Linked DNA regions of Homo sapiens: regions 2, 3 and 4 are each linked to region 1. The links are contacts of gene promoters, found by promoter capture Hi-C in blood cells and fetal thymus (Javierre and others, 2016). All regions are on one chromosome and are shown on one strand. The core of a region is centred on a gene start or on the middle of the fragment in contact, and the rest is flanking DNA. Distances in the headings are between cores, read along the strand shown. Region 1 holds the start of ACSL6 (acyl-CoA synthetase long chain family member 6). Region 2 overlaps RAPGEF6 (Rap guanine nucleotide exchange factor 6). Region 3 overlaps RAPGEF6 (Rap guanine nucleotide exchange factor 6). Region 4 overlaps FNIP1 (folliculin interacting protein 1).

Region 1 (6,366 bases), core at 1,514-4,013:
CCATGTGCATGACTTTCTTTCACTCATTTCTGGCTTTTTTATCGAAGGCTCATGAGAGTGTGTTTCATTGGTACAGTCTAAGTCACTAATCCACTCCTAGCTGCAAAGGAAGCTGGAAAAGTGAGTTTTCTGGATTCTACCGGAGACACTTGCAACTTGGGAAACTATCAAAATGTAGGAGAGAATGAATGAAAAATGAATAAATGGGAGTCAGGAGCCCAGAACTGCTGTGTGACCTAAGACAGTTGTTCGCCTTTCCCAACGTCAGTCTTCTGCTCTGTCAAATGGGATAATATCCTCTGCATTCTTTGGGCCAGACCCCAAGCCAGGGCTGCAAATAGATGATTAGGCTCCTGCCTGCCAACCCACTTAGAGATGCTAGTCTGGGAGGAGATATGTGTGAACATGGCTGGCCGCTAAGGTGGCTGGATTTGCTGGCTAAGGACCAAGAGGGATATCCAAGGGCTCCCCAGCCTGGCCTGGGCATTTCTGGGCCCTGGGTTCCATGGATGCCACACCCATGCAGTCTAGGGCCTGAGTCACAGCGTCTACCCATGCCTGCAGATGGTCCACAGATTGAGACTCACAGAGAAGGAAGAAGACCTTGGGAACTCAGGACAGGAAAGAACAAGTCCCATTACTCAGTGGAAGGAACAGGCCTAGAGAGGAGAGAGACCTGGCCATGATCCCACAACCAGGCTAGGGCCTTTCTGTCCCCATCTCTCAGGGGAAGCCAAGCCATGCTCAGAGGAAAACAGAAAAATACTTGGCTAAGCTAGAATCAGTCACAGCTCCAGTACTGGTTTTTGAATTAAAATATTCACAAGTAGCAGAGACATCTGTAGGGAGAGTAACGGGATGCGACATCCTGCTGGAGGCCAAGCTAAATGTGTCCCATGACATCACTCTGAAGAGGAGGCTGCCAGAGCCGCATAGGGCCCGGAGTGCTCCTGCAGCTGAGTGCCGCAGAGGCCTGAGGCTTGCAGCCTGGCTCCTGGCCCCCTGCTCTGTGAAGAAATGCTCTGTTGAACCACTGGCCTATGGGGAAATTACCTGACCACCTCCCTAGACCAATCTGGTCTGGGGAGATATGTTCTTTCTGCCCAGGCTTCTGGTTCCCCTGGGTCTCCTCTTCAGTACTAGCAGATCTCCAGTTACTCTGCTGCCAGTGGGAGTGTATGGGTGGGGTGGGGGGATTCTCAAAGCCATGTTACTTGCTGGGAGGAGTCCTGCCATACAGCCTCTGTCACACCCTCTTGGAGGAGCCCTGCCAAGCTTGAGATCCCAGCAAAGTCCCTGCCAGGCTGTGGCTGAGTTCAAGCTGGAGCAGCTCTCCCAGGAGTCCAGATCCTATGATGGAGAAGGTGTAGGATCCTATTGTAAAGATTGGAAGTGACTCAGAGGCACACATCTGCACACTTGCACCACTACAAGGTGCACACAGGCCTGGGCACACACATGCCATGTACTCGTACTACAGATACAGGCCCCCCCACACACCCAGCTGCTGAGCTGTGAGCCCACATGCACTCATGGCTGATGGTCTCTGGTGGGCCTGAAGAGATCTCATGCTCTTCCACTCTCTGCTTCCTGACTTCTGCTCTCTGGTTTTCTATCCTCTTCTTTCTGGGCTGTGGCTCAGCCAGCTCCTGGCCTGGGAGGGCTGCGTATAGAGAAGGCCCGGCTGCCTGAGCGCTGTCCTCGGTGCTGGAGTCCTGGTGGGCTCTGCATGCTTGAGGAAAACAAGCAAGGGCATTGGGAAGAGGTGATCTTGCTTGGAGGTGCAGATGTTCATGGGGTGCCCACCAGGATGCCTACCCTTATTATTTCAGAAAATGTGCAACTGGGCTTCCTCCTTTCAATGGCAGACACTGCAACAGGTGTCCAAGCCCTCAGCCCAGCAGTGTGGGCATCTGTGGCTGTGTGTGGCTATATGGCCATTTATTGTGGCTATGAGGGGCTTCTTGAGACCTCGTGTGCCACATACAGTTGTGTACGAAGATCATGATTTCCTCATGAGACACCTGTGATTCCATGTGGCTGCCTGTGACCATGTTACTACTGGTGAACACATATGGCAGCCTGTGATCACACTGAGTCTCCTGTGACCTTGCGTAGCCTCAGACCTGAACTCGTGCGTCCCCAGATGATCTGGGCACTATCTGGTCTAGCTGCCTGATTTGTCAGAGCCTAGGTGAACACTTGCCACTCCCTCCCCTCACTGGTTTGCAGAGGTGGCACCCGGAGGCTCCCCATGTCTGCAAACTCGGGTCCTAGGGGGCGTTGGTGTCAGCGGGCAACAGCCCACAGGAGTGTGCACCTCCTAGGACAGGTAACCGCGACCCGGCTGCCATTCGAGCCTGCCCAGCCATAAAACCCAGGCTGCGAGTCGCGCGGGGGCAGGGTCGCGTGTTGATGGGGTGGGTGGCGGCGGGGTGGGCTCAATGTCACGCTCTGGCGCTCGTCGCCCGTGCTCCCCCTTCCAGCCGGTTTCCGCAGAATGCCAGGTACTGACGTTGGAGAGCGGGGCCGGAGAGGGCTGGTTCGCTCTGCGGCCGGGCCCCTCCCCCGCCCGGGAGCTTGGCGGTTCCGACACCGCGGTCAGTGCGGGGCAAGCCCCAGACCCGGCCGGCCAGGCTGCAGGGCAGGGAGTAAGGCTCGGTTGCGAGTGCGCGCCGCGCCCTCCCCCTTGAGCCGTCTCCGCAGCGGCGCGGGGAGGCGGGAGCTGCGGGGCCGGAGGGCGGGGGCTAAAAATACCCGGCAGCGGCGGCGGCGGCGCGGCTACTGCTGGGGCTGCTGGGCTGCGGGGCTGCGGGGCTGCGGGTCGGGGAGGCCGGGCCGGGCCGGGCCGGGCCCCGCTGACCGCCATGCTGACCTTCTTCCTCGTGTCGGGGGGCTCCCTCTGGCTATTCGTAGGTAAGTGCCCGTCCTGTCCGCGTCCCGGACTCCCATCTCCCGCAGGCTATGAGGTCTTCGCCCGAGGTGGAGGTGTTACATCTCCGCGGCCGCCGAGCCCCCATCCCCTGCTGCTGAGCTGTCCCGTCAAGGTCCCCAGGGCCGCCTAAGTACACCCTCCGCCCCCAGTTCTCGCGGGCTCCGGGCCGGGTTTGGGGAGCACCTGGGTCTGCGGAGGGAGATATAGGGCTTGCTCTCTGCGACCCCACCACAAACCCCCGCCGAGTTCTTGCGTCCCCCTTCCCTGATGGCAAGGACCATCCGCGGATCAGATTAGGCCCTGAGCCAAGGCCAGGAACAGACATTGCGTCCTTGTCCATCTCCTGGGACCAGAAACCGAGGGTGTTGGTCCCCGAGGTCCCACAGCAGGTCAGCTATGTAACCCGGACTGACCTAGGCTTCCTGATCCCGGCGAGGGGCTTCCTCACGACCCCTCCCTGCCCGTCCTTCAGCCAGAGTACAAGATTTCTGTAAGGTAGGGTTCACCTGGCTCCTCTGCTCTGCCCAGGGCTGCTGTGTCTCCACTGTTTCCAGACCCCTCCCCTCCACCTCACAGGAGTCAGCTTCACCACTGCACTTCTTAGGCGGCTACAAGGACCCCTGCTCGATCCCGCCTCCGCGCTTACCTCCCTCAACCCCCCATACACCCACACCTGGAGTCTCACCACAGGCCCTTTTATCTGCCAGTTCTACCACCTGCACCGGCTACTTCCCCTCTCTGAGCCTGGGGTCCTCCAGAGTATAATACCACTAAAGGATCTCCACCTCCACCCCAACCCCCATGTGCAGATTCAGCCTGATAATTTGTGTGCAGTGCTTGATCCTTAAATTGGCCTTAAACCTGTCCTAGGCCACAGCAAATGCTCTATGAATGTTAGTGTTTATTATTATCTCACATTCAAACAGCACCATCAGAAGTGGTAATAAAGCTTTTTCTGAGCCAAGGAAGGGGAGGAAGTTGACCCTCTTGAAATCTTTACCTGAGGCTTTGTACGTGTTATTTAATATTCATGGAAAACCCTAGGAGGTCGGTGGCACCATCCCTTTTTTTACTGAGTTCAGAGGTCAATTGACTTGCCTAGTGTCACATGGATATTTGGCAGACTGGGATTCCATTCGAGGTTTTAATTGATCAACCAATGCTAAGTGCTTGGCTGGATCAGGCCTGAACCTGGAGGGTTGGTGGGCCTAGTAATCACTTCCTTCACCCCCACCATTTCCTTAAGTTAGGCCACAGGGACACTTCCCCTGAGCTGGGAGAGTGAGTGAAGCCTCCCTAATCCCCTCAGCTCCCTAAGCTCCTTCTGTCTGCCAGTGTCTGTGACTGGCTGTGCAGGGGCACTCTGGTCCTGAGGCACATCCAGCAGACAAGGGCAGGGCTAGAGCTGGGGTTGGAGGTAAAGGGCAAGGATAATTAAAATAATGGTGATGGTGGTCGTAACAGCCACCATTTAATGCCTGAGTGATGGATGGTCTCAGAGCCTCTCCCCACTGCCAGGACCCCTTTGCCCTACCCTCAGGAGGCCCCACCCAACCATGGGTCCAAGGTCAGCTCTCTGAAGACTTGATCTTCTGTGGCTGCAGGGAGGTGTCTAGGGGCTGCAAGACCACTTGTGACCGGGGTCATCAGCAGCCTGTGAGAAAAAGTCCCTCACCCTGTGGGGTCCTTGTCTGTGAGCAGGGTTAGCTGGCACTGACTCAAAGTGGAGTCCTGTTTCCTTGTGGAGCATTTCCTAAAGTGGTCAGCTCCCTCCTCTAATGGGAAACTGGGGAATCTGCCTCACTGAGAGACTATACAGGGCCTCAGAACCGTCAAGCAGGAGCGATTCTTGGGGCAGGTAGTGGCTGCTTCCACAGAGGCCGAGCTTCCCAATGCAAAAAGCAAGAGGCTGAGGCTGGTCTATGGTGCTTATTGGATAGAATAACCCAGACAATTGCTGGGGCATTTTAAGTTATGTATCCACCCTCCTTGAGACTCCACCTGGCCCCCAGCCTTTCTCTGGTGGCAGAAGAGACTCCTGAGTTAAGAGCTGTAGTTCTGTGAGCACACCTGAGAACATGCTCTGCCTTGTCATCTCCAGGGTCCCATGGTCCCACGGCAGCTGCCAGATCCCTTCCACTCAGCCAGTAACAGGAGGCAATGTCTCTCTTTAGTAGAGTTATGTGCTTTTTGCCACCTAACCTGGCCCTAGGGAGACAAGGTAGGGCCAGGCAAGGGTTTCCCTCAAGGGCCCTCAGGGAGAGATGACATAAAGTCGGGGATGGGGGTGTGGCAATGCACCAGGAGGAGGAGCTGACTGTTGTTTGTGGGAGGTAGCCATCTGTTCTGGGCTGTGTCTGTCCTGTTGCCTGCTGGAGAGGCCAGCAATGAGTCCTGGGCCAGCCCAGATCTCACCTGTGTGTTGAATACTAAACAAGGAGACAAGTAAAATAAGTCCAGCATGAGTCAGATGCTAGGTCTGGCTTGGGGAAGCATGCCCTCAGTGCCATAAACACCTAGAGGACAATGGGAGCAGAGGATCAGAGCTTCTGCCTGCCTGTACAGCACCTTTGTGCAAAGTAGGAAGAAGTCTCACTCTTGGTGGATAACTTTCTAAAAGGGCACACCTTCCTCTAGGCTAAGGCAGCCCCATGCCGCAGGGTCTAATCTGTTCAATCATATACCCAACCATCAGTGACATATGAGTGGGCTTCTGCAGCATTCAGGGGAATTTGTCAGAGATAGGGAGGCCAAGATCCAAGTGGAGGAAGCCAGACTAGCAGAGTTTGTGGAAGAACTGCAATGGGGGATGAGTCTTCAAGGTCTTGTGCCTGAGCAATGTGGGTTGTGGGAGAGGATTCTGGAGAAGGTTTTATTTGGATGGTAGAGGATCCCTCCATTTAGCTGCTGAGTCAAGAGGAAGAGAGTGGAGTCCAGGAGGGTAGTAGGAGGTCGTTATGATGTTATGGATAAGAATAGATGTGGTCCAAGGATGGCTTGAGTCATGGCTGGGCTCCAGTAAGGAGAAGAGATAAGCCCCCACCCCTGGCCTCTGCCTTAGGAGAAGTGGGGCTGGCCCTGGTGGGGCGAGACAAAGTTGCCCGTCTAAAGAATGGTTTGGCATGCTCCTGGCTATAGATGCCTAGGGCAAGCATAGACTTGCACACTTTGGCTTAGTTCAGGCCTGTGAGATCCTCCCCTTACCCCACTCTGGGCTCCCATTAGGACAGAGAACTGACTTGAGGTCTAGGGCCACCCCAGGGGTTTGGAGATTGCAGTTATGAATTGGGACAGATGGTAGAGCTCCAGGCAGAACAGGTGGCTCTGTGGCCAGCTGGGGACATGCCTCACAAAGAAAGCCTGAATTTGTACAAGGTGCACCAGCATGGAGCAGGATTTTGCCCGCAGCACCTTCTCACAGCTCTCCAGCC
Region 2 (6,366 bases), core at 1,613-4,112, 510 kb after region 1:
AGTAGGTAGGGTATTATTTTAGAATATACTGGTCAGAGTTTTCCTTTTCAAACTTAATATTGTATGCCACTGAGAGCGGGAGTCAGTTTCATCAAAGACTGCAATATTTAGAAACAAAACAGAAAATTTAAGGACCAGTCATAAAAGCATAAGTAATCCTAGATTAAGATGCAGAGTGCTTCTGGATCTCTGTGGCACTGAAATATGCATTGACTTCTCTGAACCTCACTTTTCTTATCTGGATATGGAGGTAATTCAAGACTTTATTAGGGCTAAATGAGGTAAATCAAAAGCCTTAGCACAATTGTAGAGTCTGAGTATTAACCCCCATACTGTTTTCCCTTCTGTAAGTTCTGCCCTCTCCTAATACTTGCCTTCTCACCTCCTTTTCTCTTTAAAGACTTGGATATAAACTGAACAATTATAGTTGAAAGAGGGGAAATAAACACATAACTGTTTCTCTTTTCAAGCTAGTCTTGGCGAAATTATTGCCACTATTAATTGCAGATGAAGCAGTTTACTTAATAATATGAGGGAGTTAAATCAGAGAGATAATTTGAAGTCTGATGTCATACTTCTTCTTCCCTTAGAGTCAGGCTATTCCTCAGAGATCTTTCTTTTCCTAAACAGATGAGTGTAAGCTTTGTGTGTAGAAATGATTAACATACTGGTGGAATGCCATAGGCTTACACATATACTTTTTCATTTTAATTCATTTTTATCTTTTTGTGAGGACTCATGTGTTTTAGTAATTTATTTCTAAATAATTTCAAACTTTATAGAAAAGTTGCAAGAACAGTAGAGAGATCTGTCACTGATTCCTCAACTGTTAATATTTTCACTGCATTTGCTCTATTAGTCTTTTTTCTGAACGATTTGAGAGCAGTCTGCAAATGTGATGCCTCATCACTCCTAAATATCTTATTGTGTATTTCCTAAAAACAAGGACACTCTCTGACATAAACACCATAGAATCCTTCAAGTTAGGAAGTGAACATTGCTAAAATAAAACCATTCAGGGCCGGGCATGGTGGCTCATGCCTGTAATCCCAGCACTTTGGGAGGCCAAGGTAGACAGATCATTTGAGGTCAGGAGTTCGAGACCAGCCTGGCCAACATGGTGAAACCCTATTTCTACTAAAAATACAAAAATTAGCTAGGCATGGTGGTGGCCGCCTGTAATCAATCCCAGCTACTCGGGAGGCTGAAGCAGGAGAATTGCCTGGACCCAGGAGGCGGAGGTTGCAGTGAGCCGAGATCACACCATTGCACTCCAGCCTGGGCGACAGAGTGAGACTCCGTCTCAAAAACAAACAAACAAAAACAGATTCAGTCCAGAAACCCTATTTAGATTTTCACCAGCTATCCCAATAATAACTTACTTCTGGTCTAGAGTGTTGTCCAAGAACACAGTTGCATTTAGTTGTCATGTCACTTCAGTCTGTACCAGTTCCTCAGTCCTTCACTGTTGTTAATATCCTTAGCAGTTTTAAAGAATACAGATCATACATCCTGTAGTATTACCCTCCACCTGGATCTTTCCAGTATTTCCTCATGACCAGATAGATTCAAGTCATGCTTTCCTGGCAGGAGTTCACAAAACTCAGAGGGCACACAATGTCAACCTGTTGTCCTACCAATGGTGAAGTTAGCCATGATTACTGATCATGTTGGTGTCTGTCTGCCCAGTTTCTTCAGTGTAAAGTCATCATTTTACCCTTTGTAACTGATAAATATTTGGTGGAGAGATGTTCTGACAGTATCAAAATACTATCCTCAGACTTTTAGTTTATGTATAGTATGCACTGAATACAAACTTCTATTCGGCACTTTTTACTTCCATTACTATTCTTGTCTGAAATGGTGATTTTAAAAATAATTTCTCATGCATTTATTAACTCATTGTATTGAAGGAATGAACTGTCTTGTCTTCATTAATTTATTTATATTGGTATAAACTTATGTTACCATCATTCTTATTCTGATCCTCAAATTGTCCCAGGTTTTAGGTAGTGGGACTCTTAAACTGACACCTGTATTTTTTGACATATCCCCATCATTTGAGCACATCCGTATAATCTGGCAAATAATAAGGCTCATCGTGAACTTAACTGTACCAGCTCTGGAATTAGCCATTTCTCAAGAAGACCCTGAATCTTTATTCATTGTTACTGAAGTGTCATTGCTTTTAGAGTCTTTCATCAGAGCTAGGAAATATATGTATGTATTTGTTATAAACACATACACATCTATAACTTTATATATATATTAAACAACCATGAGTTACAATTCCACTACTACCTGTACCTCCAGTTCCAGTACCAGCACCACAGTTTTCCCTAGTCTATTCCCTTCTATATTTGTAAATACCTTCTCCAACAATGCCTCTTGTTATACTCTGTATATTATTTGCTCATTGTAAGCAGTTTCTACCATGCCAGTATAACAACACCAGCCATCTCTTCTGCTTGCTACCTCTGTGCACCCTGTCTCCCAGCATCCCACCTTCTAATATATTTTACAATAGATTTTAAACACTGTGTTGATTTTTTTAAGTGAAAGTTCAGAACATCAAAAATACTTGAACATAAATTTGCCGTGAGTTTATACACACCTTAAAATGTTTCCAGATTCTGATTGCATGCTGATGGGTTGCTTTTGTGACATAAATATTGAAAATATGTTATTTTTACTGTACTACAATCTTCACATTGAGATTTAATTGCAAATCATAACCATCTTTTGCTCATAGAAGGATTGATCATTTGATTTTTTTTTTTTTTTTGGAGACAAAGTCTCACTCTGTCACCCAGGCTGGAGTGCAGTGGCACGATCTTGGCTCACTGCAACCTCTGCCTCCTGGGTTCAGGCAACTCTTGTGCCTCAGCCTCCTAGGTAGCTGTGACTACAGGTGCATGCCATCACTCACAGCTTTTTTTGTTTGTTTGTTTGTTTGTTTTTGTATTTTTAGTAGAGGTGGGGTTTTGCCATTTTGGCCATTTGGCCGGGCTGATCTCTAACTCCTGACCTCAAGTGATCCTCAGGTCAAGGCCAAGCATGGTGCCTCAGACATGTAATCCCAGCACTTTGGGAGGCCAAGGTGGGCTCCAGAAGTGCTGGGATTACAGGTGTGAGCCACCGCACCTGGCCTTGACTTTCTGTTTACACATAATCACACAGAAAGCAGTTACTACTTTTCATTTCATTCATTTCTTCATTCAGTTCATTTCTTCATTTATTCAACAACACTGACTTTATGGTACTCTATGCCAGGCCCTGTGTGAGATCTGGGAGATACTAATATATACTTAGATTCTGCTATCAGTGAACTCACAGTCTTTTGAGAAAGACAAGGCGATAGTTTCAGCATGACTTGATAAATCTTAAGATGGAAGAGCAAGAGAGACATAAAAAGAGGGATCTAAATTAGGCTAGAAGAAATAGCAAGAAGATATAGGGAGGAAGGGTGGCCAGACAGAGACATATGCATGTGCTATATAAAATTGCATAATATATTTAAGAAAAAGCAGGAAATTTGTGTGGCTGGGATCAAGGGCATTTTGAGGTAAGATAGATTTTAGTCTAAAGAGGTAAGGGCTCATCTTTAAATAAAATTTAGAATGCATGACCTAGTCTCTATAGGGACCCTGCCTCTGTGATTTTGCCAGTCAGAATAATGGCCTAACATGTTGAACAGTTCCCATCCCTCACTCAGCTATTCTAGGAAATGGAATTAAGTGAACCTAAATGACCCTAAACCAGGATTGGCCTGAGTAATAAAACAATTTGGTACTCTTAGGCTTAGAATGTTTTGGAGGATAGGAGAATAGGAATGACCTATGATTTTCTTATCTCTTAAGGAGGTTGTTTCTGAGTTCCTTCTAGAGAAACGATTTTCGTACCTTATTTTTAATTAATAAAATAGGGCCAGGCACAGTGGCTCACGCCTGTAATCCCAGTACTTTGGGAGGCCATGGAGGATGGATCACGAGGTCAAGAGTTCGAGACCAGCCTGACCAACATGGTGAAACCCCGTCTCTACTAAAAATACAAAAATTAGCTGGGCATAGTGGTGCATGCCTGTAATTGCAGCTACTCAGGAGGCTGAGGCAGGAGAATTGCTTGAACCCAGGAGGCGGAAGTTGCAGTGAGCTGAGATCGCGCAGCGGCACTCCAGCCTGGGCGACAGAGCCAGACTCCGTCTCAAAAATAAATAAATAAAAATAAAGTACCTTTTAATAAATAAAGTACCTTTTTATTTTTAATAGATTCTTAGATAAAGAACATTGTTAGTATTAATGTATGTTTACCACACAGTTATTCTAAACAATGAAATTGTTTGGATGACTGCAACAAATTGAAGGTTGGGTGTTATGGATAACAGTTTTTATATCAGGCTTAACATCTTGTTTGTTTCTGTATTTGTTCTTGTACCAACCTTTGAAAAAGCTACAAAGGGTAATAAACATTGGTTCAGAAGCTCAAAGAAGAGCAGTATGGAAATTTTTGTTTATATTCTTTTTTTTTTTTTTTTTTTTTTGAGACAAAGTCTCGCTCTTGTCGCCCCAGCTGGAGTGCAGTGGCATGATCTCCGCTCTCTGCAACCTCCACCTCCCGGGTTCAAGCAATTCTGCTGCCTCACCCTCCTGAGTAGCTGGGATTATAGGCGCCGGCCACCACACCCAGCCAATTTTTGTATTTTTAGTAGAGACGGGGTTTCACCATGTTGGCCAGGCTGGTCTTGAACTGTGGACCTCAGGTGTTCTGCTCTCCTTGGCCTCCCAAAGTGCTGGGATTACAGGCATGAGCCACACCACGCCCAGCCTGTTTATATTCTTTTATAAAGTTGGAAACAAGCATTTAAAACTCTGAATTAATTTCAAAACTGTCTGTAGAACTTCTGGTTCCTCTCAATATGGTGACCTAGCATGGAGAGGAAACTGTATGAGAGGAACTGTAGAAAAGGAAATATTTATTCTGGGAAGTAACAATAATGAAACAGGCTCTCTTGAACTGGTGTGTTCTTCCTACAGCCTGGTCAGAAAAGATTTTTGAGGTGGATTAAATTTGGAGAAAAGCTTTCTTTTTTCTTTCTTCCCTTTCATTCCTTTCTTTTTCTTTCTTTCTTTAGTTTAACTTTCACCTCTTTTGTTGCCTTGAGACAATAAATACATGCCCTGGTTGTAGGAGAAGTGGCAGTAACAGCCCACACCAGGGCTAAGTTAGTGAAGTTCAAAGGTCCTGCTATGATGAAATGCCAGTGAAAACAGCTTCAGCTGAGTGAGTGCTGTTGGCTATTTATTTCTCTGCCTTTTCTGTCTCTCAACCTCTGGGTGCTGGTGGATTACAATTAAGTTTGCATTCCAATTCTCCCAGCGCTAAGGATTTAAAGGCGAAACTGTACTTTGACGATTTGTCTAATGGAGTAGCTACAAAGCGGAGTAATCAACAATAGTTCTTTGGTTCTTGGGTCATTTGTTTATTTTCTAATCCTTCCTATCCTTGGATTTTTAGGCAACACCTGAGCGTCTCATAATGCATTTAATAGAAGAACATTCCATCGTGGATCCAACTTATATAGAAGATTTTCTATTAACTTACAGGACATTTCTTGAAAGTCCTTTGGATGTTGGGATCAAACTATTGGAATGGTTTAAGATCGACAGCTTAAGAGATAAGGTTGGTTTTATAAGGGGCATGAAAGTGATTTTAACCCAAAATTTTATTCATGAAACTTTTATAGTTGATAGATTACCTGTTTATTATGATAATAAGATTCAGTACACCTAAAAAAATTAATGAACCTGAACCATCAGTATAAACATTCTCTGCTTACTTTTATGACAGAATAGCATGCTAAAAGTGGACGAGAGCCTTAAAAGGCAAAAACTGAAATAAAGCTCTGGTATAGCTATAGGTTCAGGAAACATAATAGTTACATGAGAGTATTTTAGAATTTTACTGAAATACTTGATTGTTTCTGGAGATCAATAAAACATTTTAAAACGGATTTAATATTTTAGAAAGAATATTCATCAAATACATTTTTTTAAGAGGGCAGATTGCTTTTAAGCTTCAAAATGGGAATATTTTTATTTTCTTGAGTTACAGACTTCACAATCATTTGAAAACAATTTATCAAACCTTAATATGTCTCTCCTGTGACTTATTTAAATCTACCTTTTGAGTATTTTTTTGTATTAAATGTTGTTCACTATTTTAAATAAATTAGCTTATTTCATGGGATATGTTTGCACATTTAATGGAAAGACTAGTAATACTTCCACAAATTGGTAAGAAATAAGTTGTTTCAAGAAAATAAAAGTAGGATCATAATTGTCTGGTGTGTCTTTTTGAGTTATATTT
Region 3 (6,366 bases), core at 1,364-3,863, 490 kb after region 1:
TTTGAGAATGATTAAGTATGGTTCAGCAGAGTATGAATCTAGTGTTCTCTTTCATTTATCCAGGTGAATCCATATTAATATCTAATGCTTGTTTTGGTTAAAAAATTAGTTCTTGGAATAACTGAACTTAAACTTATAAAAAGGCTGATTTTTGTTATAATTGACTGTATATGTCTTCTGTAGTTAGAAGTCATGAAGAAAATTAGAGCTGCTTTTCTACCATAAAGCCTCTGTTGTAGTCTAGCGTGAATTAAATAGCAAATTAGTGAGAATATTGATGGACTTTTCCATTTTCTAAAACCCAAGAGGAACAATTTCAAACCTACTGAGCTTTTCAGTGATCATTGTAATATTGGGGAGAAGGTTCTAGGAAGACCCATAAACTGAGAGAATCCTCACATGATCCTGCTGAGATTGAACCCAAGTTAGGTTCAAGCCAGGGTAATAAGTATTTCAGGATCCAGATAGTGGAACTTCTATGATGTCTTCTTTAATGCAAGTTGTAAGGAGCAGTTCCCTGGGTGTGGAGCCCAGTGGTTGATTTTGTCAGAGATCATGAGTATAGAACATAAAACAGTTTAAATAAAATAACAAGAGGATGCATGATATTGAGGGTTGGTTTGTTAAGGAATTCAAATATATTACCTATTTCAGAACTGTCAAATAGAAATTTAATGTGAGCCACGTATTTAATTTTAAATTTTCTAGTAGCCACATTAAAAAATATAAAAGGAAACAGGTAAAATTCATTTTAGTAATATATTTTATTTAGTGCAGTATAACCAAATACTATAATTACAACATGTATTTAATGTTTTAACATTATGCATGAGTTACCTTACATTACTTTTGCATATTAAGTCATCAAAAAACAGAGTTTAATTTAAAGTTACAGCACATCTCAATTTGGACTAGCCATGTTTTAAGTGCCTAATAACCACATACGGCTAGTGGCTACCATATACTAAGAATTGTAGAAATAGTATCATTGTCTGAGGAAAGCATTTTAGACTGGTTCTACAAAGTTACCCAGATTGAGATATTTTAGGAAAATAGCCTTCTTCTATTCAGGGAAGTTTGTAGGCAGATGCAAAATGGAACAAAGACAATACCCATTTTTTGGTTTATATGTGGCTTTTCTCAACAAAGGTAATTGCTGTGGTCATCTATATCTCCCTGTTTGCTTTTTACAGTATACAGAACAAGGAATTTTTCCCTGTTCTCCATTTTATAGTAGAGAGAACAAAGAATTAAAAGAGAGATGAAACAAGTTAATACAATAGCTCTGGCACCACTTAGTACTTGTGTACCTATTGGGCTTCATGCTTTCTGCCCCTCCCCAAAAGAATTATCTTGTGAAAGAAGAATTGTTGCACACCTAAAAATCAAAGTAGACTGTGTTTTTCCAGAAGAAAACACTGAGGAAGATTGACCCTGGATCAGTGAAATTCAGGGATGTGGCTGTAGATTTCTCTCAGGACATGTGAGAATATCTGGACTTTTCTAAGACTATACACAGAGGTTTAGTGTTGAAAAACTATAGGATGGGAGGCCTAGGCGGGCGGATTACCTGAGGTTAGGAGTTCAAGACCAGCATGACCAACATGGTGAAACCCTGTCTCTACGAAAAATTCAAAAATTAGCTGGGCGTGGTGGCACACATCTGTAATCTCAGCTACTTGGGAGGCTGAGTAAGGAGAATTGCTTGAGCCCAGGAGGCGGAGGTTGCAGCAAGCCAAGAGCATGCCACTGCACTCCAGCCTGGCCGACAGAGCAAGACTCTGTCTCAAAAAAGAAGAAAAGACAAGAAAAACTATAAGAACCTGGTATCACTGGGATATCCACATCTCTAAGCCAGGATAGTGCACAGATTAAGATTCAAGGTCACTTGGAAAGACCAATGCTTTATTGTGAACTAGAAGATGGACTGTACACAGTTGGTCCCTACATCTTTGCAAAGATACTACAGGAGCTCCTATAGGAGCATTGCACTTATATTAGCACCTGCAGATTACTCCCCTTTTAGCTGGACAACCTGAGGATGAGACTGGAGTACACCTGCTGGTGTTGGTTGGAGGTGTTCTATTGCAGGACCATGGCATAGCCTATATCAATATGTAGAATATTTCCATCACCTCAGAAAGTATCCATATGACCCTTTGCAGTCAAGTACCTTCTCCTGACCCCTATCCTATGCCCTGGCAACCACCAATCTCTTTTCTGACCTTATAGTTTTGCCTTTTCCAGAAGGTCATATAAATGGAATCATATAGTTTAAAAAAATATGATGCAATGAAACTTATAAATTAACCAATAAAAGTGGGAATGAATTTAGAGAGCATGAAAAGATAAAAGGAATAAAGATAAAATAAATAAGATAAAACTCTAGAACCAAAATAGGAATGAAGAAATTTAAAGAAGAAACTTATAATAATGTTAACATCAAATATATAAAACCTAAGATAAAATTTTTTAAGAGTAGTCAAAGAAGATAAAAATTTTCAAACTCTGCTGCTGGGCACAGTGGCTCAAGCCTGCAGTCCCAGCACTTTGGGAGGCAGAGGTGGGCGGATCACCTGAGGTCGGGAGTTCAAGACCAGCCTGATCAACATGGAGAAACCCTCTCTCTACTAAAAATAAAAAATTAGCTGGGGTGATGGAGCATGCCTGTAATCCCAGCTACTCAGGAGGCTGAGGCAGGAGAATCACTTGAACCCAGGAGGCGGAGGTTGCGGTGACCCAAGATCACGCCATTGCACTCCAGCCTGGGCAACAAGAGTGAAACTCCGTCTCCAAAAAAAAAAAAAATTTCAAACTCTGACATAACAGTTAACTTTAGGACCATAGCCAAAAGATAGAAACAGCATAAACGCCAAAATAAAAAGAAGCCAATAAAGATAAACACAAAAGGAAAAAAATCAAAATCATAAAAATATACACCTACATACTTATATATTTTTTATATCTCATATGTATAAAATCTTATATATCATATCTATGAGATAAGTAGGTATTTTTAACATTTTATTTATATTTCGTTAAATAAATATATATACCTGTATACTTAAATATGTTATACTTGTAGATACAGAATGTAAATCCGAGTTCAAGAACACCAGTTAGTAACAGTGTTTTTCTACTAGTGGTGGGTTTGTGGGTAGTTTTTATTATGTTTCTTAAACGAACATTTTTATTTATTTAACAAATATTAAGGAGGACGTAAATAGATTGTATAGTTAAAAGTTGAAAAAAAAATTGGAAAATATTTAAAGGAGAGTAAAAGGAATAAACACAGAATTATAATAGATTGATAAGATATACCCTCCAAAGTACAAGATTTCTATAATTTTAATCCATGGGTAAGAGAAATGTCTAACTAAATTTTGTGTGTGTGTGTGTGTGTGTGTGTGTGTGTGTGTGTGTGTGTACATGCGCGAATGTTTCCAATCAGATCCTCGGGAATAAACAAGGAGAAGAATTAAATATCAGTACTGGACCCTTGATCTTTCCTTTCACCTTAGGCTGCCTTTAGATTCCCTTTTGGAGCTATGAATATACCCCTTAGTTACAGGTGTACATTGCCAATGTATGTATCTTAGCCTGGGATAGCTGAAGTGATTTGTCTAGTTATTTGAATTTTAGCATTTGAGAGATTTTTTAAGTGAACACCTAGCCTTTAACACCATAAGAAAAGCCTTGTGAAATGATAGAAGTATTTTTAATTTGGACAGTTGAGGGGAAGATATCCTAACAGCAATTTTTTTTTAGTGTTTCTGCTTTTATTCTTCTAGAAATTTAGAAACGTTTCAAGTGAAATCCAGCTTTTTTTGTGGGGCAGAAGACTATATATAGATTAATTTGGGCATTTTTTTCTAACGTGGAGTCTTCTTATCCAGAAAAATGGATGTCTCCCCAATTTTTAAAAATAATTTCAACTTTTATTTTAGATGCAGGGGGGTACATGTGCAGATTTCTTACATAGTATATTGCGTGGTGCTGAGTGTTTGGGGTTCGAATGATCCCATCACCCAGATAGTGAGCATAATACCCATTCGGTGGTTTTTCAGCCCTTGCCCCTCTCTCCCTGCCCTAATAGACCCCAGTGTCTGGTGTTCCTATCTTTAGGTCCATGTGTACCCAATTGTTAGCGCCCACTTATAAGTAAGAACATGCGGGATTTGGTTTTCCTGACAGCAGTTCTTAACAGGAAAACTGTTTACACTGTTTTATATGGCCAAATGTGTGGCTACACTTCTATGCATTTCCTTCTTGAGAGTTTTCATGTCTTCTGGTCTAAAAATAAAAGCCCTTGGCCCTCAAAGAAACTTCAAAATATAGCATGTACTATAGTGTGGAGGGAAAAAAAGGCAAATCAATGATTCCAGTGTGAATGTGTTTCTAATCAGCATAGATTAAAATTTTAAAGTATACATTAAGGTGTAAGAGTGTTCTTAGATAGAATATTTTCTGCATCTTCAAAGAGTATTCAAGAGAATAAGGAGTACTTCTTTCTAGATTCCTTTTTCTATTTATTTCAGTCTTTTCCATGAGCTGGAAAACTGTGAAATATTGACTCTTGAACAAAAGCATGTTGTCTTTTTGTTAACTCATTCTTAAACAACTCCAGACACACATTTATCCACCACCTACCTTTTCAGTTTCTATATAGGCAGTAAGCGTGTTCTTAAAAATCCCAAGACTTCAGTTACCACCTCTATGGCAACATGATTTCCTAATGCACAGCTCGGAGTGCCAATCTCTTCAGAACTCTGGTGCCACGTTTTCACCAGTATGTTCTTTTGTCAACTCAAGTCACCACATGTTCTCTTACACCTTTCTTTAATATTTCTGTTAAGAATATCATCTGAGGCTGGGTTCGGTGGATCACTTGAGGTCAGGAGTTTGAGACCAGCCTGGCTAACATAGCAAAACCCCATCTCTACTAAAAATACAAAAAAAAGTAGCCACGTGCGGTGGCGCATGCACCAGCTACTCAGGAGGCTGAGGCAAGAGAATCGCTTGAACCCAGGAGGCAGAGGTGCAGTGAGCCAAGATCGCACCACTGCACTCCAGCCTGGGTGACAGAGAAAGACTCCGTCACAGAAAAAAAAAAAAAAAAAAAAAAAAAAAAAAAAAAAAAAAAAAAAAAAAAAAAAAAAAAGGATATCATCTGAGTCCTAGTCAAAATCTGTTATCATCTTTTGACTATCATTTTTAAACTCCCACTTGAAATAAATTGCTCTGATTTTTAATTACTCTTGTATTTAAAAAGCTTTAATTCTTCACTGTTATCTAAATTACACTCTTAATTTTAAATTCCAAGCCTTTTACCTCTAACTACAATGTAGTTTTATATTTTACTGTTCCCCCACTTACACATTCTAGATTCTGCCCCATCACATATGTACGTTATTCCCTGAACATGTCTGCCTTTTCCTAGTCTTGTGTTTTAATCATGCTCTTCTACCCGTAGCTTCATGAAGATGACATTTTCATGTTATCTCCCATGTCTTTCCAACAAGAAGAAATGTCTCCTTCCTTGGAATCCCTCAGCAGTTTTTCTCTCGGACATGTCACTTTTTCTCTCTGCTTTTTTTGGTAGTTACTTGTAAACTTGACATTTTTCATCACCAGAGTAAATTTATGGAGTGCAGAGTTGATGTCTTAAATTTGTATCCCATGGTGAGTCAGGCACAGTGTTGGCATTTAGGAAGTACTCTAGAAATTCTTTTTTTGCACTGAATTATATTTGAAAGTAGAAACCAATATTGGCTTCAAGGAAAATGCAGATCTCTGCTAACTAAAACTTTATTATCCAGGGCAAAAGAGACTTGATTTTGCCTGCCTGCCGTGTTGTAGAGGTTATGAAATGGGTCAACCTGGACTGAAAGATTAACTTCATAGAGTTCTAACCCTGACCAGGAAGACCTAAGAACTAAATGGTCCATGAAAAGGTTAAATGAAATACTAAAGATGGGAATACAGAAAAGAGAGGCACTGAAAGTCTAAGGCTTAACACTTGCCCTAAATTTGAAAATGTGGTTTTTGTAAGTTTGTATAACTCTTAGTTCCAACCTATAGTTCTCTTCATTGTAGCTTCATGTTTATCTAGATGGAAACAGGAAAAGGATATCCTCTGGTGGTTTATTTGGGGAAGGCCGAGTCATCAGAAAATCACCTCAGACTGTCTGCCTCACCAAATTATATTTATGTATACAGAGACACATTCATATGTCAGGAAAAGAAAAAAGTTTCATGCTGTCTTAATCCTATCACCAATATATATATTTTTCCTGGACTTAACTCATTTATCATAATTAAGGGTCTGATATGTCCCAGGTGCTAGGATAAATTAATTGAAAGGCT
Region 4 (6,366 bases), core at 2,054-4,553, 260 kb after region 1:
TATCATTGTCCATTAGTTTTACCTCTTCTACACATAAATAGAATTATCAGTAGGTGCCCCATTGTGTCTGGATTCTTTCATGCAACAGTATTTTTTGAGTTCATCTTTGTTACCGTGGGATCAGTAATTCATTCCTTGGTATTTCTGAGTAGTATTTCAATGTAGGAATATATCGTAGTTTGTTTATCCATTCTCTGTGGCATTTGGGTTTAAATAAAACTGCAGTGAACATTTCTGTGAGAGTATTTGTGAACATTTATTTTCATTTTTATTGGATAAATTTCCTGTGAGAGGAATTGCTGAATCATAGCTGTCAAGCAATATTCCAAAAATGGTTGTACACTTTTACACTCCTACTAACAATGTATGGGAGTTCCAAGGGCTTCATATTATTACCAACCACTGGTGTTATTAGTCGTGTCAGTTTTAGCCATTTTAATGCTTGTGGCCATTTTTTTTGTTTGTTTGTATGTTTTTGTTTTGTTTTGAAACGATGTTTCACTCTTGTTGCCCAGGCTGGAGTGCAGTGATGCAATCGTGGCTCACTGCAACCTCCACCTCCCGAGTTCAAGCAATTCTCCTGCCTCAGCCTCCCAAGTAGCTGGGATTACAGGCATGCACCACCACACCTGGCTAATTTTATATTTTTTTTTAGTAGAGTTGGGATTTCTCCCATGTAGGTCAGACTGGTCTTGAACTCTTGACCTCAGGTGACCCACCTGCCTTGGCCTCCCAAAGTGCTGGGATTACAGGCGTGAGCCACCGCGCCCGGCCGTGGCCATGTTTTAATTTGCATTTCTCTGATGATTAACACTGTTAATTATCATTTCCACATACTGATTATCCATTCATATATCTCCTTTTGTGAAATGCCCAAGTTGTACCTGTACCCTTTTAAAATTGGATTGTTTATTGCTTACTGCTTTGTGGGGGTTGTTTTGGCTGTTTATAAGTTTTTATCAGATATGTGCATTGCAAATATTGTCTTCCAATCTCTGGACTGGTCTTTTTTTTTTTTTTTAGATGTTCAGGTTTAAAATTTTTATAAAGTCCAACTTACCAATTTTTTATTTTATGCATAGTAATTTTTGTATCTTGTTTAAGAACTCTTTGCCTAACCTAAGGTGGCATAATCACCTGTGTTTCTTTATAGAAGCTTTATAATTTTACCTTTTTCATAAAGTCCTATTTTAAATTAACAAAGAATACAAATTCATGGCTGGGCGCGGTGGCTCACACCTGTAATCCCAGCACTTTGGGAGGCCGAGGCAGGCAGATCATGAGGTCAGGAGATGAAGACCATCCTGGCTAACAAGGTGAAACCCTGTCTCTACTAAAAATACAAAAAATTAGCCGGACGTGGTGGCTGGCACCTGTAGTCCCAGCTACTCGGGAGGCTGAGGCAGGAGAATGGCGCGAACCGGAGAGGCGGAGCTTGCAGTGAGCCAAGATCGCGCCACTGCACTCCAGCCTGTGCAACAGAGCGAAACTCTTGTCTCCAAAAAAAAAGAATACAAACTCACAAATAAGTTTGGTAATAAAGCCTTTTTTATTATTGCTGAGATATACTTCACATTCCATAAAATCTACTCTTCTAAAGTGCGTGATTCAGTGTTTTAGGTTGGTTTGGTTGTTGCTGTTTTTGTTTGTGGTATATTTACAAAGTTTTTTGGTGACCATCACCACTGTCTAATTCCAGAACATTTCATCTCCCCAGAAAGAAACCTCGTACACATTGCAGTCATTATGGATTTGCCTATTCTGGACAAGTCATGTAAATGGAATCATCATACGTAGCCTTTTTGTGTTTGGCTTTTTTTCCTTAACCTAATGTTTTCAAGGTTCACCCATGTAGTATGCATTCTTTTTATGGCCAAATACTCCATTGTATTGACATACCACATTTTGTTTATTCATGAGTTCATGGACATGCCTTTTAACTTTTTAAAGAAAGCACATTTGTTTTTTCTTCTTCTTTTTTTTTTTTTCAGATTGTGGAATCCATTCACTCCTGAAATATTTAGTGCCTATGATATTACATTTACTTAGGGATATGTAGTTTTACTCATTTACCAAGCTTGGGACTGGGGATTCAAAGATGAATAAGATCTTCCCTCAGGGAGCTTTTTTTTTCTAGTGGAAGAAACAGGCATGTGAACAGATAAATTACAAGACAATCTGATGAAGATACTATTAGATTTATAATCTAAGGTAAAGTGTAATCCCAAAACTCAGTAGCTAACTCTGCTTGGAGGAATGAATAAGAACTTTTTAGAGTAGGTGACATTTGGAGCTAGATCTTTAAGAATAAATAAGAGTTTGCCAGGAGAGTGAGAATATTTCAGGTAGAAGACATGGCTTGTACAAAGGCATGGAATTGATATATCTTGGCACCTTTGAGAAGCTCAGTATGATAATTATGGGTAACATGAAAAGAGTCTGGAAAGGCAGATCTGGGCCAGCCCATGAAGAGCTTTACATCTAAGCAAAGGAACTTGGATTTTATTCTTTGGGTGTCTGGGAGACCAAAGGAGTTTGGCTAAATGAAATGGCATCACTGCTTATATAAGGTCTGTTAGAAGACCACATATCCAGTGAAGCCCAACTTTTCATTTTCTCCAGAAAATTTTGTCCATATTAGGCACCTTTTAAAAAATGAATGTATTGGCCAGGTGTGGTAGCTCGTGCTACCTGTAATCCCAGCAGATTACTTGAGGCCAGGAGTTTGAGACCAGCCTGGCCAACATGGCAAAACCCTATTTCTACTAAAAGTACAAAAACTAGCTGGGCGTGGTGGCACATACCTGTAATCTCAGCTAATTGGGAGGCTGGGGCACAAGAGTCTCTCAAGCTCAGGAGGCAGAAGTTGCAGTGAGCCGAGATCATGCTACTGCACCCCAGCCTGAGAGACAGAGAGAGACTCTGTCTAAAAAAAAAAAAAAAGAAAGAAGGGAAGAATATACCTCCCCTCAACCCAAACCATTCTCTCACTACCACCTTCTATCATAGTCTATTGACTTACCTGAAGTTATCAAGTTAATTTATTTCTTTGCTTAGCTACTGTTGTATCTTTCTTCCAGAGAGGTTCTTTTTTATCTTGCCCTAACCACTGCTTGGCACATAGTAGGTACATATCTGTATTTAATGATTAAATGAGCTATTCTACCTCTAATATCTTAAACTCTAGGATCCTGCCCTGTGATTATAGCCTCCTATTCCTTGTCCTCTCTGCCTCCCACTCTCCTTCTTTGCGTTTTTTCAGCACTTTGACCGTACTGCCTCCATTTTCTTTTGTTATTGTTGTCCCATCACTACGTTCCCTAACTAGCTTAGATCAATTCAGCTGTATTCTTGTCAGTCTTATACTCCATTTCCATAGCCTTCCTTTTCTTTTGTTCCGTATACCTATCAAAACCCTTACCTTGGCACAGTCTGATCCAAATTCAAGCACATGAGGTCCTACTGGAGAAAATCACCTAACTGTAGTTTGCAGCCAGTACATCGTCCTAGTTCATAGTCTTCAACGTTATGTAGATGTACAGCATTGCCTGGAAATCTTATGTTTTCTATTCAACATACACTCATGCACCAGTGAATGATGGGGCTCTGTTCTGAGGAATGCATTGTTAGGCAATTTTGTTGTTATGCAAACATCACACAGTGTACTTACACACACTAGATGGTATAGTCTACTACACACCTAGGCTGTATGATAATAGCCTATTGCTCTTGGGGTACAAACCTGTACAGCGTATTGCTGTGCTGAACACTGTAGGGAGTTGTAACACAATGGTAAGTATTTGTGTATCTAAACATATCCAAACATAGAAAAGGTACAGCAAAAATATGGTATAAAAGATAAAAAGTAGGCCGGGCACAGTGGCTCACACCTGTAATCCCAGCACTTTGGGAGGCCGAGGCAGGCGGATCACCTGAGGTCAGGAGTTTGAGACAAACCTGGCCAACATGGTGGAACCACATGTCTACTAAAAATATAAAAATTAGCCAGGCATGATGGCACACGCCTGTAAACCCAGCAACTGGGGAGGCTGAGGCAGGAGAATCACTTGAACCCGGAAGCGGAGGTTGCAGTGAGCCAAAATCGCACCACTGCACTTCAGCCTGGACGATAGACTGAGACTGCATCTCAAAAAAAAAAAAAAAAAAGATAAAAAGTGGTACACTTATATAGGGCGATCCATTCACTTACTGTGAATGGATTTTGCGAGACTGGAAGTTACTGGGTGAGTCAGTGAGTGAGTAGTCAGTGACTGTGAAAACCTAGGACAGTGTTGTACACTACTGTAGGTTTTATAAATAAGCACTGTATACTTAGGCTACATTAAATTTATTAAAAATGTTTTTCTTCAATAATAAAATTAACCTTAGCTTATTGTAAGTTTTTTCCTTATTAACTTTTTAATTTTAAAATCTTTTGAACTGTTGTGTAGTAACACTTTGTTTAGGACACAAACATTGTACAGCTGTACAAACATATTTTCTTTCTTTATGTGCTTATTCTAAGCTTTTTTCAGTTAAATTTTTTTAACCTTTTTGTTAAAAACTGAGACACAAACACACCATTAACGTAGGCCTACATAGAGTCAGGATTATCAGTACCACTATCTTCCATCTCCACATCTTGTCCCACTGTAAGGTCTTTAGGAGTAATAACACACATGGAACTGTCATCTCTTATGCTAATAATGCCTTTTTCTGGAATACCTCCTGAAGGATCTGCTTAAGGCTGTTTTACAGTTAATTTTTTTATAAGTAGGGGTACACTTTAAAATAATGATAAAAGTATAGTAAATTCATAAACCAGTAACATAGTCTTTTTTTTTTTTTTTCTTTTTTTTTTTTGAGACAGAGTCTCACTCTGTCGCCCAGGCTGGAGTGCAGTGGCGCAATCTTGGCTCACTGCAACCTCTGCTTCCTGGGTTCAAGAGATTCTCCTGCCTCAGCCTCCTGAGTAGCTGGGACTACAGGTGCATGCCACCACGCCTGGCTAATTTTTGTTTTGTACTTTTAGTAGAGACAGGGTTTCACCATGTTAGTCAGGATGGTCTCAATCTCCTGACCTTGTGATCTGCCCACCTCAGCCTCCCAAAGTGCTGGGATTACAGGTGTGAGCCACTGCACCCGGCCAACATAGTCTTTTATTATCAAGTATTGCGTATTTTACATAATTGTATCCGTAATACCTTCATATGACTGACAGTGCAGTAGGTTTGTTTACATGAGCATCACCACAGACATGTGCGTAATACTTTGTGCTACCATGTGATGACAGCTACAGTGTTACTAGGCAATAGGAGTTTTTGAACTGCATTATAATCTTATGAGACCACCATCATATATACAGTTTGTTGTTGACCAAAACGTTATATGGTGTATGACTATTTTATTTCCCAACAACTGCTATTCTCTTTTTTACTCTCTACTATCCCCACATCTTACCACCTTTCCCTTACTTGCCTTCACCTGCTTGACAAAGAAAATGGATCTCTTAGATATGGATTCCCTCCGCACCTTACCTTCATATCTACAAATCTTTCTGCACCCATGTACATCTTTATCTCCTTTCTTTCCATCCTAGTGTGAGAGTTATTTTCTTTGAGCTAATGCTTTCACTTGTGCTCTATATCCTGTTCTCTACTTCCTCAGAGGCCTTGTATTTCTCCTCCACCTCAGATTCTGTCATCAGCATATATGTAAACATGTTCAGATGTGTCATTTTTTAAATAGCAGAATATCTGTCACTCTCACTCTACTTGAGGTTTCATTTTCTTTCTCTTTTTTTCTTACCAGTTGTCTGTTTTCTCTGCTCCTATTCACTCTTCAGTCCCCTAGAATCTGACCTCTGTACTCTTTATTCCTTAGAACTGTCCTTGCTATGGTCACCAATGACTTTTGCTTCTCTAGTGGATACTTTTTAGTGACTCCCGTGGTAGTTCTTTTTCTTTTCTAAAATGTTCTTTTTCACTGGTTTCCGTGAGACCCCTTTCCCTATTTTCATCCTTTGTCGGTCTGTTCCTTTACAGTTTCCTTTGCATGGTATGAAAGCACAATTTAGTAGAAACAGTTCAGTGTGATGCAAGTCATTGTGGTTTAAGGAGGAGTCTCTGGTTTAGCCTGGATGTCTAGGTAGGTCTTTATCATTTACTAGCACACAGACATTTACTAAAGATTAGACAGAAGAAAACCAAAATTATATTTTCTGTCAAGAATTTGGGATGAAGATGTTTTATGTTGCCGGTTACACATAGTTTCACATACGTTGACAGAGTTAGGGTTAAGGCTCTCTTAAGGAAGTGAAGAATTGTGCCTGGTGGACAACCCACATAATGGCAGAAAATATTCACA

Evidence for each region. Contacts are between HindIII fragments. The CHiCAGO score rates a contact against its expected background, and 5 or more counts as called.
Region 2: a contact is called between a fragment that was not itself captured here and the fragment with the promoter of ACSL6 in region 1, in 7 of 17 cell types (activated CD4 T cells, total CD4 T cells, non-activated CD4 T cells and 4 more). The highest score is 7.5, in activated CD4 T cells.
Region 3: a fragment that was not itself captured here is called in contact with the fragment with the promoter of ACSL6 in region 1 in 5 of 17 cell types (naive B cells, naive CD8 T cells, total CD4 T cells and 2 more); the score reaches 6.6 in naive B cells.
Region 4: a contact is called between a fragment that was not itself captured here and the fragment with the promoter of ACSL6 in region 1, in 7 of 17 cell types (M2 macrophages, M0 macrophages, M1 macrophages and 4 more). The highest score is 7.4, in M2 macrophages.

What each region holds. Positions count from the first base shown.
Region 1 is chr5:132,008,055-132,014,420 of GRCh38, reverse strand. ACSL6 (acyl-CoA synthetase long chain family member 6) reads left to right here and starts at 2,763. Exons shown (of 21, transcript NM_001009185.3): 1 at 2,763-2,916. The coding sequence starts at 2,868. LOC124901062 (a long non-coding RNA gene) reads right to left here and starts at 2,965. Exons shown (of 2, transcript XR_007058933.1): 1 at 2,876-2,965. RefSeq lists a silencer at 6,332-6,366. The HindIII fragment of the contact is 2,609 bases long and covers 1,278-3,886 here.
Region 2 is chr5:131,497,756-131,504,121 of GRCh38, reverse strand. RAPGEF6 (Rap guanine nucleotide exchange factor 6) reads left to right here. Exons shown (of 28, transcript NM_016340.6): 12 at 5,515-5,679. Among named protein-coding and RNA genes, the nearest start is that of RAPGEF6, 130 kb to the left of the region's middle. The HindIII fragment of the contact is 4,437 bases long and covers 644-5,080 here.
Region 3 is chr5:131,514,842-131,521,207 of GRCh38, reverse strand. The region is part of intron 7 of RAPGEF6 (Rap guanine nucleotide exchange factor 6); the gene reads left to right. Among named protein-coding and RNA genes, the nearest start is that of RAPGEF6, 120 kb to the left of the region's middle. The HindIII fragment of the contact is 5,323 bases long and covers 1-5,274 here.
Region 4 is chr5:131,747,194-131,753,559 of GRCh38, reverse strand. The region is part of intron 1 of FNIP1 (folliculin interacting protein 1); the gene reads left to right. Among named protein-coding and RNA genes, the nearest start is that of FNIP1, 47 kb to the left of the region's middle. The HindIII fragment of the contact is 2,448 bases long and covers 2,080-4,527 here.